2 separate regions of the Homo sapiens genome follow, and region 1 is linked to region 2. Evidence: promoter capture Hi-C in 16 types of primary human blood cells and fetal thymus (Javierre and others, 2016). All regions are on one chromosome and are shown on one strand. The core of a region is centred on a gene start or on the middle of the fragment in contact, and the rest is flanking DNA. Distances in the headings are between cores, read along the strand shown. Region 1 overlaps ENPEP (glutamyl aminopeptidase). Region 2 holds the start of EGF (epidermal growth factor).

What was found. Contacts are between HindIII fragments. The CHiCAGO score rates a contact against its expected background, and 5 or more counts as called.
Region 1: a fragment that was not itself captured here is called in contact with the fragment with the promoter of EGF in region 2 in 1 of 17 cell types (erythroblasts); the score reaches 5.4 in erythroblasts.

The regions. Positions count from the first base shown.
Region 1 is chr4:110,524,695-110,530,123 of GRCh38, reverse strand. The region is part of intron 10 of ENPEP (glutamyl aminopeptidase); the gene reads right to left. Among named protein-coding and RNA genes, the nearest start is that of ENPEP, 51 kb to the right of the region's middle. The HindIII fragment of the contact is 6,028 bases long and covers 1-4,341 here.
Region 2 is chr4:109,911,462-109,916,431 of GRCh38, reverse strand. It overlaps EGF (epidermal growth factor), which reads right to left and starts at 3,549. Exons shown (of 24, transcript NM_001963.6): 1 at 2,970-3,549. The coding sequence starts at 3,096. The HindIII fragment of the contact is 2,188 bases long and covers 2,700-4,887 here.

The sequences.
Region 1 (5,429 bases), core at 78-2,577, 620 kb before region 2:
CTTCCTCCTTATCTCCTTAGACCCCTTTCTCTCTTTTTTTTTCTTTTTAGACGGAGTTTCATTCTTGTTGCCCAGGCTGGAGTGCAATGGCACGGACTCGGCTCACTGCAACCTCCGCCTACCAGGTTCAAGTGATTCTCCTGCCTAAGCCTCCCAAGTAGCTGGGATTACAGGCACCTGCCACCACACCCAACCAATTTTTTTGTATTTTTAGTAGAGACGGGGTTTCACTATGTTGGCCAGGTTGGTCTCGAACTCCTGACCTCAGGTGATCCACCTGCCTCGGCCTCCCAAAGTGCTGGGATTACAGGCATAAGCCACTGTGCCCGGCCCCCTTTGTCATTTTTGTACACCTTGGATACCAGTGTGCTTTCCCTGCCTACAATCAATACCTGGGTCTCTCTGACAGAGGACTGCCTTCCAGCTACCTGAGCAAGGAAAGCCAGAAGTTCCTGGGAATTTACGTCCTTCTGGATGTGGCCCTTAACAGTGAGTGACAGGTGTGAGAATGCTTCCTGCCCCATCCATCAGGAGCACTCTGAAGTATGATCTGCACTGGCTCCAGGACTTTCCTGCAGGACTAAGTCAAAGTTACTCTCTTCAGGACCTGCTTCATACAGCACCTTTGCTGGGCTTCCTTTCCTTCTCTATCCCACTGCCTGCTCCCCCACTGATCTTTCCTGGAAACACTTTCTAACAAGTCACTTTCACACACATGATCATTTCGGGGTCTGCTTCTAGGGACACCAAACTAAGAGCCCTTGCAGCTTCTCAGAAGACCGACAAAGAACATTCCTAAGATGCCACATCTTACCTATATACCTCACTTGCACTGGTCTGCTGAATTGGTGCTGCCATGTAAACTCACATTTTATGCTTCCTCTTCTTTCCCCAATGCCAATCTGACTGAAACAACAGAGCAGGCAGCGTCTGGATGACCTAGGCCCACAGTTAAGGTTTCCTATTTTGACTATCCTCTCTAAAACATGGCCTCTGGGACTACACCAGGCCTCAAAAGGGCAGAAGCTGTTCTCCTAATCTCATGTACAAAAATACTGCTCTGAGGTCTTTAAGAGTATCATAAGATAAAAATGATAGAAAGTTGAGGCTATACAATTTTATAGTTTTAGAATCACATGATCTAATGTAATCTAAGCTGAGTAAAATCACAGACTTGAGAGTATAAAATGTGAAGAAATGGAAATTACATAAATGAAACGATTGAGTTTTCTACATATTGGCTAACATTCAGGAGTATCAGGATTCATTTTTATAGACATAGTTCTTCACTATCTAACCATGTAAGAGGTTCTAGCAGTATGAAATATGGCCACTCTAATTTTCTCTAAGGAAACTGACTTTGATTGCACCAAGCTGACACACTTACTCCCATTCCCTCTGCCTGTTTACATGGAGTGGACTATCAAAGGCACATATGCTTTCCTGAGAGAGACATCCCGGGATGGAGATGTGAAACTGGCTCATTTCTAAGAGATGGTTGAGGACATGGTGTTAAAGCAATAACTTATACATGGGTGAGCCATTTGAATTATAAAAAGGTTCTAGTCAGTAAGAATTCCCTAATCTTGGATTATTTAAACAGTGAGAAAATATTTATAGAAGATCATTGAACTCACAGTACAACTTAACTGGCCACACTGTCTACCAAACAGGAACACATCTGAACAGAAAGTAGATGGAAGTTAGGATTGGAAAAAAAGCTAATTCCTTTATGGGTGCATGAAGGCATTTATTATGATCAAATTCTTCTTTTAAACAAAGAAGAATCCTTTTGCTATAATGGTTCTTTCTTATTTGTTCAGGAGCTACTACGGATTTTTAACAAACTTTCTCAACAGAGAAGAACCTCTTTTCTAAGTCTCTTTTCCTATGCATATATGACTTCTTAAAAAATAAAAATAGAATGAACATATTAACTTTATGATAAGCCATCACAAAAAAATTCATGCAACTAAGAATATAAATAAAATGAAAATAGTATCTGAAGGTGGAAACTGAAGACAAATATTAAAGACAGTATAAATGTGAATACAGTTCTATGTTCTAAGTCTTGGTGAATAAAATTTTAAAATTTACTGTTACAAAAATTGATTTTATACCGTGATGATATATTTAGTTCACTTGGCAGTAAAATTGTTTGGTTTGTGTGAAGAGAAATTCATAACCAACAAGCAGCTTGTAAAAATCCAACCCCATTAATTAAAAAAACTCCTTAGTTTAAATTGTTGACTGTCTTTGGCTTAAATTGTTGACTGTCTTTGGCTTAACAAATTAATGGATACATATGAGAGGAAGTAACAGTTACTGGGAAATTTTCCCAGTGTAAGTTTATTTCTCAAGAGAGAAATACTTTTTAAATTTTAATATCCAGAGGCTCCAGCAGTATTAAATAGTTAATCTAATTTGCTAGAACACAAAACAGTAACTATAAAAGAAACACTTTATAGTTGTTAGCAGAACTACCACAGAGATTATTCTATGATTTTCGTAGTTGAATTATCACCTGAAAACAAGTCAGATCTATGTTTCAATTCATGTATCATGAAGAGGAAAAAGTGAAAAACAAATGTTTTCTCCATCATCATCTAATCTTTCCTTTCTAAAATAAAGGTAAGGAGTACACTTACCTGCAGAGTTCAGGGAGTATACAGACACTCCCTGAAGGGACCTCATATTGGTCTAAGTAGTCAAATTTTCCTTTGTTGTGGTGTGACCTATTGATTTTCAGAACTCGCATTATAGCAGGATACCCAGTTTCTCTGAATGTCACTTAGTGTGGGAGGCTGGGTGTCTGAGGTTTCCAGGAAGAGAGGCCGGAAATGAGCCTCAACGAGTTGAGTACAACGGCTTTCTCAATGCTTCTCCAGTTCAGGTGTCAACTGGCATCTTGGAAGCAGCTAATTTAATAATTCTGAGAGTTCATCATTCTCTGATGCCTTGGAAAGTCAAGTGCTTCGGCAATTTTAATTTTTGGAAACACCTGAGTGTGCTGTAGTGTGACTTATTTCCCCAAGCCCTGAATTGTAATCCAGGAAACAGGCTCTGTTACCCCCCTTATAGAGTACCCATCATGAAATGAGACTATAAAGATCTTTCTCTTCTGAATAAATATGGCTACGATCACTGTGGTGCAAGATGAGAACAATATTCTAAAAGGAGATTGTTCTCCGCCAATTCACCTGATTGAATTCCTTCCACATTGTTCTTTAATTAGGAATTTTAGCTCAATAAAATCTTTGGAACATCTGCCATGCCCTCCAGCCCACAGCCACTCCTACCTAGCCCAGGCTTATTGTTTCCATCAACTATCACGTGGGCTGCTCATTGCAATATTGTCCTAACTGGTCTCCCTGCCTCCACTCCTCCCCAACTGCCCAGGATCTGTGATCAGTTCTCCACAGTGCAGCAAGAGGAGAGCTTTGAAAAATGTAAATGTGACCCTGCCAATTCTCTCCTTAAAATCCTTAAATTTGCATACTATTTTCAAAATCTTTAACATGGTCTGCATACCTGGTTCCTGCCTTCCTCTTCGTCTTCACCTCACACCACTTTTCCCAGTCACTCTCTGCTATCCCGTTTCTTGGAACCAGACTGCCTGGGTTTACATCAAGCCTCCATTATTTACACTGTGTGACCTTGAAATTACTTAATCACTTTTACCACAAATTCCTCATTTACTATAAAATAAAATGCATCTGAAGTGCTTAAAATAGTGCCAACCACTTGGTCAATGTTCAATAAGTGTTGTAAATCATGTGTATAAGACTTTGGGCTTTCATATACGCTGTAATTTCTGTTTTGGGGCGGGGGGTTTGTTCTGTTTTTTTCAGACAGAGTCTCACTCTATCACCCAGGCTGGAGTGCAGTAGCATGATCTTGGCTCACTGCAGCCTCTGCCTCCCAGGTTCAAGCGAGTCTCCTGCCTCAGCCTCCCGAGTAGCTGGGATTACAGGTGTGTGCTACCATGCCCGGCTAATTTTTGTATTTTCAGTAGAGATGGGGTTTCATCATGTTGGCCAGGCTGGTCTCAAACTCCTGACCTCAAGTGATCCACCCACCTAGGCCTCCCAAAGTGCTGGGCTTACAGGCATGAACCACCACGCCCGGCCATAGTTTCTATTTTGAACATCCAGAGAAGTCACTTCCCCACACCAATTTGCTCACCTTAAATATCACATCCCTGGAAAAGAAAGCCTTCTGTGACCCTCCCTGCCCTACTCCACCTCCTGCTTCCCTCTCCCAATTAATTGAGGCTCAGCAAATCAGTGGACTCATATAGTAAGAGAGAATAATTACTGTGAAACTTTCCAAATGGAAGCTTGTTTGACAAGAGACATATTTTTAGATTTAATATCCAAATATTCCAGTGGTTATTAGAGTTGGCCAACCTAATTTGCTAGAACATAGACCAGTAACTATAAAGGAACCAGTTTAGAGTTAAAGACTTTCTAAAACATCTTTTTGTGTTATTCTAATTGCTACAAGATAATTGATCTTACAATAATTTATATATGTGACTATAAAATAATGTCAATGAAGTCATTAAGGAGAAAAAGAAGACAAAGTGTCTCTTCAGTGACAATCAGGCAGTGGAGATTAGAGGACACGTGGGTGGGAACGGGTGAAGATTCTCTCTGCTCAAGCAAAGCATTCAAATGTTGAAAGAGGGGGCAATAAAAACTGGGCATGGGTGAAATGGGAACAACGTCCAGAGGACTAGTGATGTGCTACGCTGCCAGTATCCACTCTAGGAGGGGCTCAGCTGGGTAACCCGGGCTAGGAAGATGTCCCCAGAGTGGTACATCCCAGCTCCTGGGGCCAGGCCCGGGACTGGAGTTCCTGAGATTTTGAATTTGTTTCCTTCAGATGGGAGCAGCTGGCACCCAAGAAATACATACAAAAATAACGATTTAGTTATGCAGAAATGTTTATAGTATTAAGATTTTTGTGCAAGTTGTATTCATGCAGGTGTGATAAGTTTTGAAATCCTCAGCTGTGCTTTGCATGCTTTATCAGCCTTTACAATATATAAAACATTTTTTAAAATTTGAGGTCATCTGCGATGGCTCACACTTGTAATCCTAACACTTTGAGAGGCCAAGGCAGGAGGATCGCTTGAGCTCAGGAGTTTGAGACCAGCCTGAACAACCTTTTCTCTACAAAAACTTTTTTACACATTAGCTGGGCATGTTGGTGAGCACCTGTAGTCCCAGTTACTTGGGAGGCTGAGGTGAGAAAATCACTTGAGCTCAGGAGATTGAGGCTGCAGTAAGCTATGATTTCACCAATGCACTCCAGCCTATGTGATACAGCAAGACCCTGTCTCAGAAAATAAATTAAATAAATAAATACATTTGGCAAAGTAGAGAAAATGACATACTGGAATTGTTTTAATTGAAATACTTAGA
Region 2 (4,970 bases), core at 2,300-4,799:
AGCAGCAGAAATGGGATTTGAATCCAGGCAAGAAATCTGTCTCCAAAATTTATGCTTCTTTACCACTAAGCTCAATGACCAAACACCACTGAATATTTGGAGGTTAGTTTCACTGCTGTTAGAAAAAAAGAAAAAAAATCGCATAACCCTGGCTGAAAAAACAGACAAGCTTCTGGTCTCAGAATTACTCTGGTTTGCACATGACTGGGATGCTGACCACGCCTTAGCCGGTACTGAAATCACTGATTTCACTGTTTACTACTAAAAGTGATAACTTAGTGCCACCCCAGGATCCCTCCCGCAGCTGGGAGGCTGTACTTCTTCCTTACCCTTTATTACCAAAAAAGTTCATATAAATAATGCAGGTACAGAAGCCAAACAGGAACAATTTCTTTTTCAACTGTTATTTGTCCTCCAGGGTAAATAGACTTGAAGGTTCAGAAACCACTTGCCAGCAGTTTTCTTTCCTGCTGTCCTCACCTGCTGTAGCTCAAGTAGACGCTAACAGAATACTCAGTTAAAAGGAGGGAGAGGGAGGGGAATAGAAAGAAACCTAATTGTGTTGCTATCACTTGGTTTATCCGGCTAGCAGTCACATGAGTAACAATCTTGCATAAGTTTACCTGAATACTGTTAGACCATAAAGCATTCTTCCTGCTGGGTCAGGTGGCTGCAGAGGTGATCTGTCTCAATGCCAAGGGCAAGAAATAAGGCAAGTAGAATTTAAATGAGGGAAAAATAGATGATGGCACCATATCTATTTAGAGAGGAGAAAGAAATACTATCCTCTGAAATGCACACAGTGACTGACAAAGGGTGACCCAGGCAGTTATCAGCTAACATGAGACCAGGAGCGTAAAGTACGGGATTTAAACCAGTGACTTGCAAGAAATGAGGTAGCAGAGAGGCAGGGAATCCCAAAGTGCCATCCACACATTCCACACTCCATGGATCTGTGCCGTGTCACTGCACTGTTCAAATACGGCATCTCATCGTATGACTTGATCAGAGATTTAGCCAAGACGTGGAGCCCAGGAGGACATTTATTGAGCATACTCTGCTAAGCACCATGCTTTGGTACATGCTAGGTTATCTCATGTGATTCCCCACAAAAAAATCCTAAAAGCAGTGGGCGAGGGTATTATTTCCCAGAGATACTCTAAAGTAACTCAGCTATTAAGTTGGTAGCATGGATATGAAATGAGGCTTGTTTGTTTCTAAAACCTGTGGTTCCTTCCACTCTGTGACACAGTCTCCCCAACTTATTGTTTCTATCCTGGGTTTCATGTTTATTGGGTACAACCTACCTCAATGAAGGCACTTCTGAGCCACCAGAGGTGGCAAGGAAAACAAGGCATAGACTTGCTTGCCAGCAGGAATCAGACTATTCTGAGATCCTAGAGCCATCCATAAAAGCTCATTTTTGTAATTTCTTGGGTTCTGCTTCAGCAACCTGGGTTCTTCTTTCCTAGCTTCTGGCTGCCTGATAGATCGGCCCAACCATCACCCCTCACATCCCATGCAAATGACAGTGCCCAACTCTAGATATTTGCCAACTACTCCACGGAAAATTCTCCCACCCCAAAGAGAGTCCAGTCCATTTGACATAACTGTATACAGAAGTTTTACTTCTGTCTCCAACAGCTGAGTCTGAGGTTCATGGGGCCATTTTTGTCATTTGTCACCCTCTTTTTGTTGCTGTTCTCTAGGACTATGTCATTAGCAGATCAGAGAAAGACGCCTCATTCATACACAAGAATTTGCTGAGTACACACTGTGGAAGCAGGAATGTCCTAGGTGCTGGGAACATAGAGATCACTAGGATTAAGTCTTTATTTCAAATACCCTAGAGTTCTGCTCACCTGTTACAAGGAGTGCTACCTGAGAACAGAGTCCAGAGATTCTGAGCAAAAGCACCTGATTTCCTCATCGGGAACTTCCTTAATGGGAGAGCCAGGACAGCAGCCTAGCTTTGGCAGTTTGGCTCCATTCTGCTCTCTTTATTCAAACTATTGCCTATTGTGTACTGTCTTCCATAGGTGTCTCTTCTGGAAACTGTACTGTGTTTTCCCCCTCAATCTACCTCTTTTTAAAAGCCAGACGCCATCTCAAAAGGGCAAGCTGATAAAAATGGAATGTCGGGGCAGCTATAACCTCTCATCAACAAAGGCGGCTGCCGTGTCTAAGCAGCAGGTTGGAGGCTCACCCAAGGATTAAATAAATGAATTAACAGTTAGAGAGAGAATGTTTTTCAGGCAATATCCTTTGGCAGGATTGTAATTCGCATTCAGTCAAGCTCCCATTTCCCCTTGGCAAAAAATTCATTTAATATGAGAGGACAGTGTGGCTTATTTACCCATTATCATATTTGGCAGTTCTTAAAGTTGCAATGCACCTGTTACTAAAACTCCGGAGTTGTGTCAGAGCCTCAGAAACAGTAAGAGTGGGGAGAAAGTGAAGGAGGTTGAAATTGAAATTTAGGTTAATTTTCACAACTACCTTTGTTCACAGTTCCCTTTCCATTTTTCACTAATTTTTAGAACTTCTGAATTCTTACAAGTTATCAGAAGGAAGGATTTTTTTCTTTGTGGCTTAAGAGTTTCAAACAGACAAACAAAAAATCAACCATCTGTTTCCCTAATTTCCAAGCAATTAGCCAGGTGTTAATTACTCCTCTTGTCAGAGTAAAAGCTGAAGCTTCCATGAAATGTTCTGCTAGTTTAAAATGAGGCATATTCATTCACTTATACACAGAAGTACAGTTTGAGAGTTATGAAGTTTTATAGTTGGTAGCAGATTAGCTCTAATGGCCAGTAAGAAAATAAACATGCATCAGAAAACAAAAATTAAGCAACTATACATACCCAAAGACAAACTTTGTTAAATGCCCAAGTATACCAGATTGAACCAACAGGGATGTGGGGGCAGTTTCCCGGAGACCTGGAGCACCTTTTCATTGGAGTACTTACCCACACAAGTAGAATTCCCATTTCCTGCGAGAGTACCTTCAGGACAGCTCCAGTGCTGCGGTGCTGAGAGACTAACAAAACTAAATTTTGAAACTACTGGCAACAGAATGATAAGAGTGAGCAGCATAATCTTGATGAGTTTGAACTTTCAAAAGAAAACAGCTTGATTTTGCTGGAGCATGGCCCGGGCAAGGTGAGTATGATTGACCCCAGATGCGGCTGCCTGAGCGGAGGCCTCAGCCCTGGGGCATCTTTTACTCTCCTGTTGTGCTGTTGTCCTCCAAGCTCTTTCTTCAACTGAGAGACCTTCTGAATGCAGCCTGCCAAGGGAAGCCACAGGAAAGATTTCTTTATCTATGTTTCTTTGGAAGCCAGTAAGAAATACCTGACACCCTTATGACAAATTTCACAGAGTTTAACAGCCCTGCTCTGGCTGACTTCACTGTGACAGAGCAAGGCAAAGGCTTAGAGAGGAAAAAGAAAGGAAGAACTGATGGAAAGTTCCAGCTACAACCCTTGGATTGGGGCTGAAAGAAGAAATATGGAGATACGATTCCTCTCCCAACAGTTTCTCTTTTTGAAAAGTGGAATGACTCAGCTTTGCTTTTTAAAGCTCTTCAGGCTCCACCTCCTTTCCTTTAGTGACACTTGAGTGAGCCTCTGTTTGCAAATGCGAATGTGGGCAATTCCTCCACACAGGAAAGCAGGGATGACTGCCAAAGAGGAGATAACTCGCTACTCACCATAAATATCCTGGGCAGAACTGGGAGAGAGGAGTTGGGGGCTGTGGAGGTGCTCATGGTGAATGGCGGGAACTGCTAAATATTGGCTATGTTTTAATGTCTGGAAGGATGGAGACAAAATTAAACCATGCAGTATAAATCAATAATAAGCAGCACTGTTGATAGTTTGGATTGATAATAATTGATCATTCACATGAGCAATAGTAAAGATAGTTCACCTTCAGCCCATTATTTGAACGAAATGTCAATACCAGTGCACATTCCAGGAGCTTTATCTTATTTTTCTCTTTCTCCTGTATAGTTTATAGCGGAATTTGAAAGATTATTCTTTCCAAATCAAAGGGAAATCCCTGAGGCCAAATGAAGAGATACAGTATGGACAGACACCTTTTCTTTCAGCATGAGCATGATAAAACATCACGAGGGGCCAGGAGTGCAGAGAAAGGAGTGGATTGTTATTATAGGGACATTGGAAAAAATAAGCTAACAGTGCAAAGCTGGGAAGCACTGGAAATCCAGCACAGAGGAATGCTTTTCCTTCTAAGATAATTTAGGCTTTTTTTTTTTCACATCTCTGTGATAGAAAATAAGAACTGGACGTATCTGTTAGCTGTCTCCTCAACCACTTTCTACTTGGAGCAACAGTGGTTATTTCTTCAGGAGTACAACTAGGGCCCAAAAATACCCAGAAGGCAAACAACTTATAGCAGATTTGATGCACGATGGAAATTTCTGTCAGTTTACTCCATCCTGGAAAATGGACTTTCATTTAAGTTACCCTGAGGTAGTGTTCCAAGTGCTGGTCAAAAATGTACGTAAAAGCAATAGTCACAAAAACAACTGTCACACTAGTGAACACCCCATTACAGAGGAGAACAGACTAACTCTAAGCCTTTTACTCATACTTAATTATGTCCTGATTATTCTCCAAAGACTGGATCACTTTCCTGAAACAGCTTAAGTCAGGATTTCTCCTATTTCAGCCAGCCTCTGCCAGGCAGCTCTGAACCCTTACAGGAGAAACAGACCCTGGGGAAGGGGGAAAGAGAAGTCCTTTAGGTGGTTATGCGGAATATTCCATTGCTTTCTGGACTGAGTCAGACTCAAGACTCATAATGAGCATCCTACAAATAACCTGCACTGACTCTTCGAGTTACTAACTTTATTAATAAGCTTCCCTTTCAGCACAATACATTGCCAGCATCCCAGATGACAGCAATGGAAGGGGCTTAGAGGACAATCAAGCATCACGCTGTGT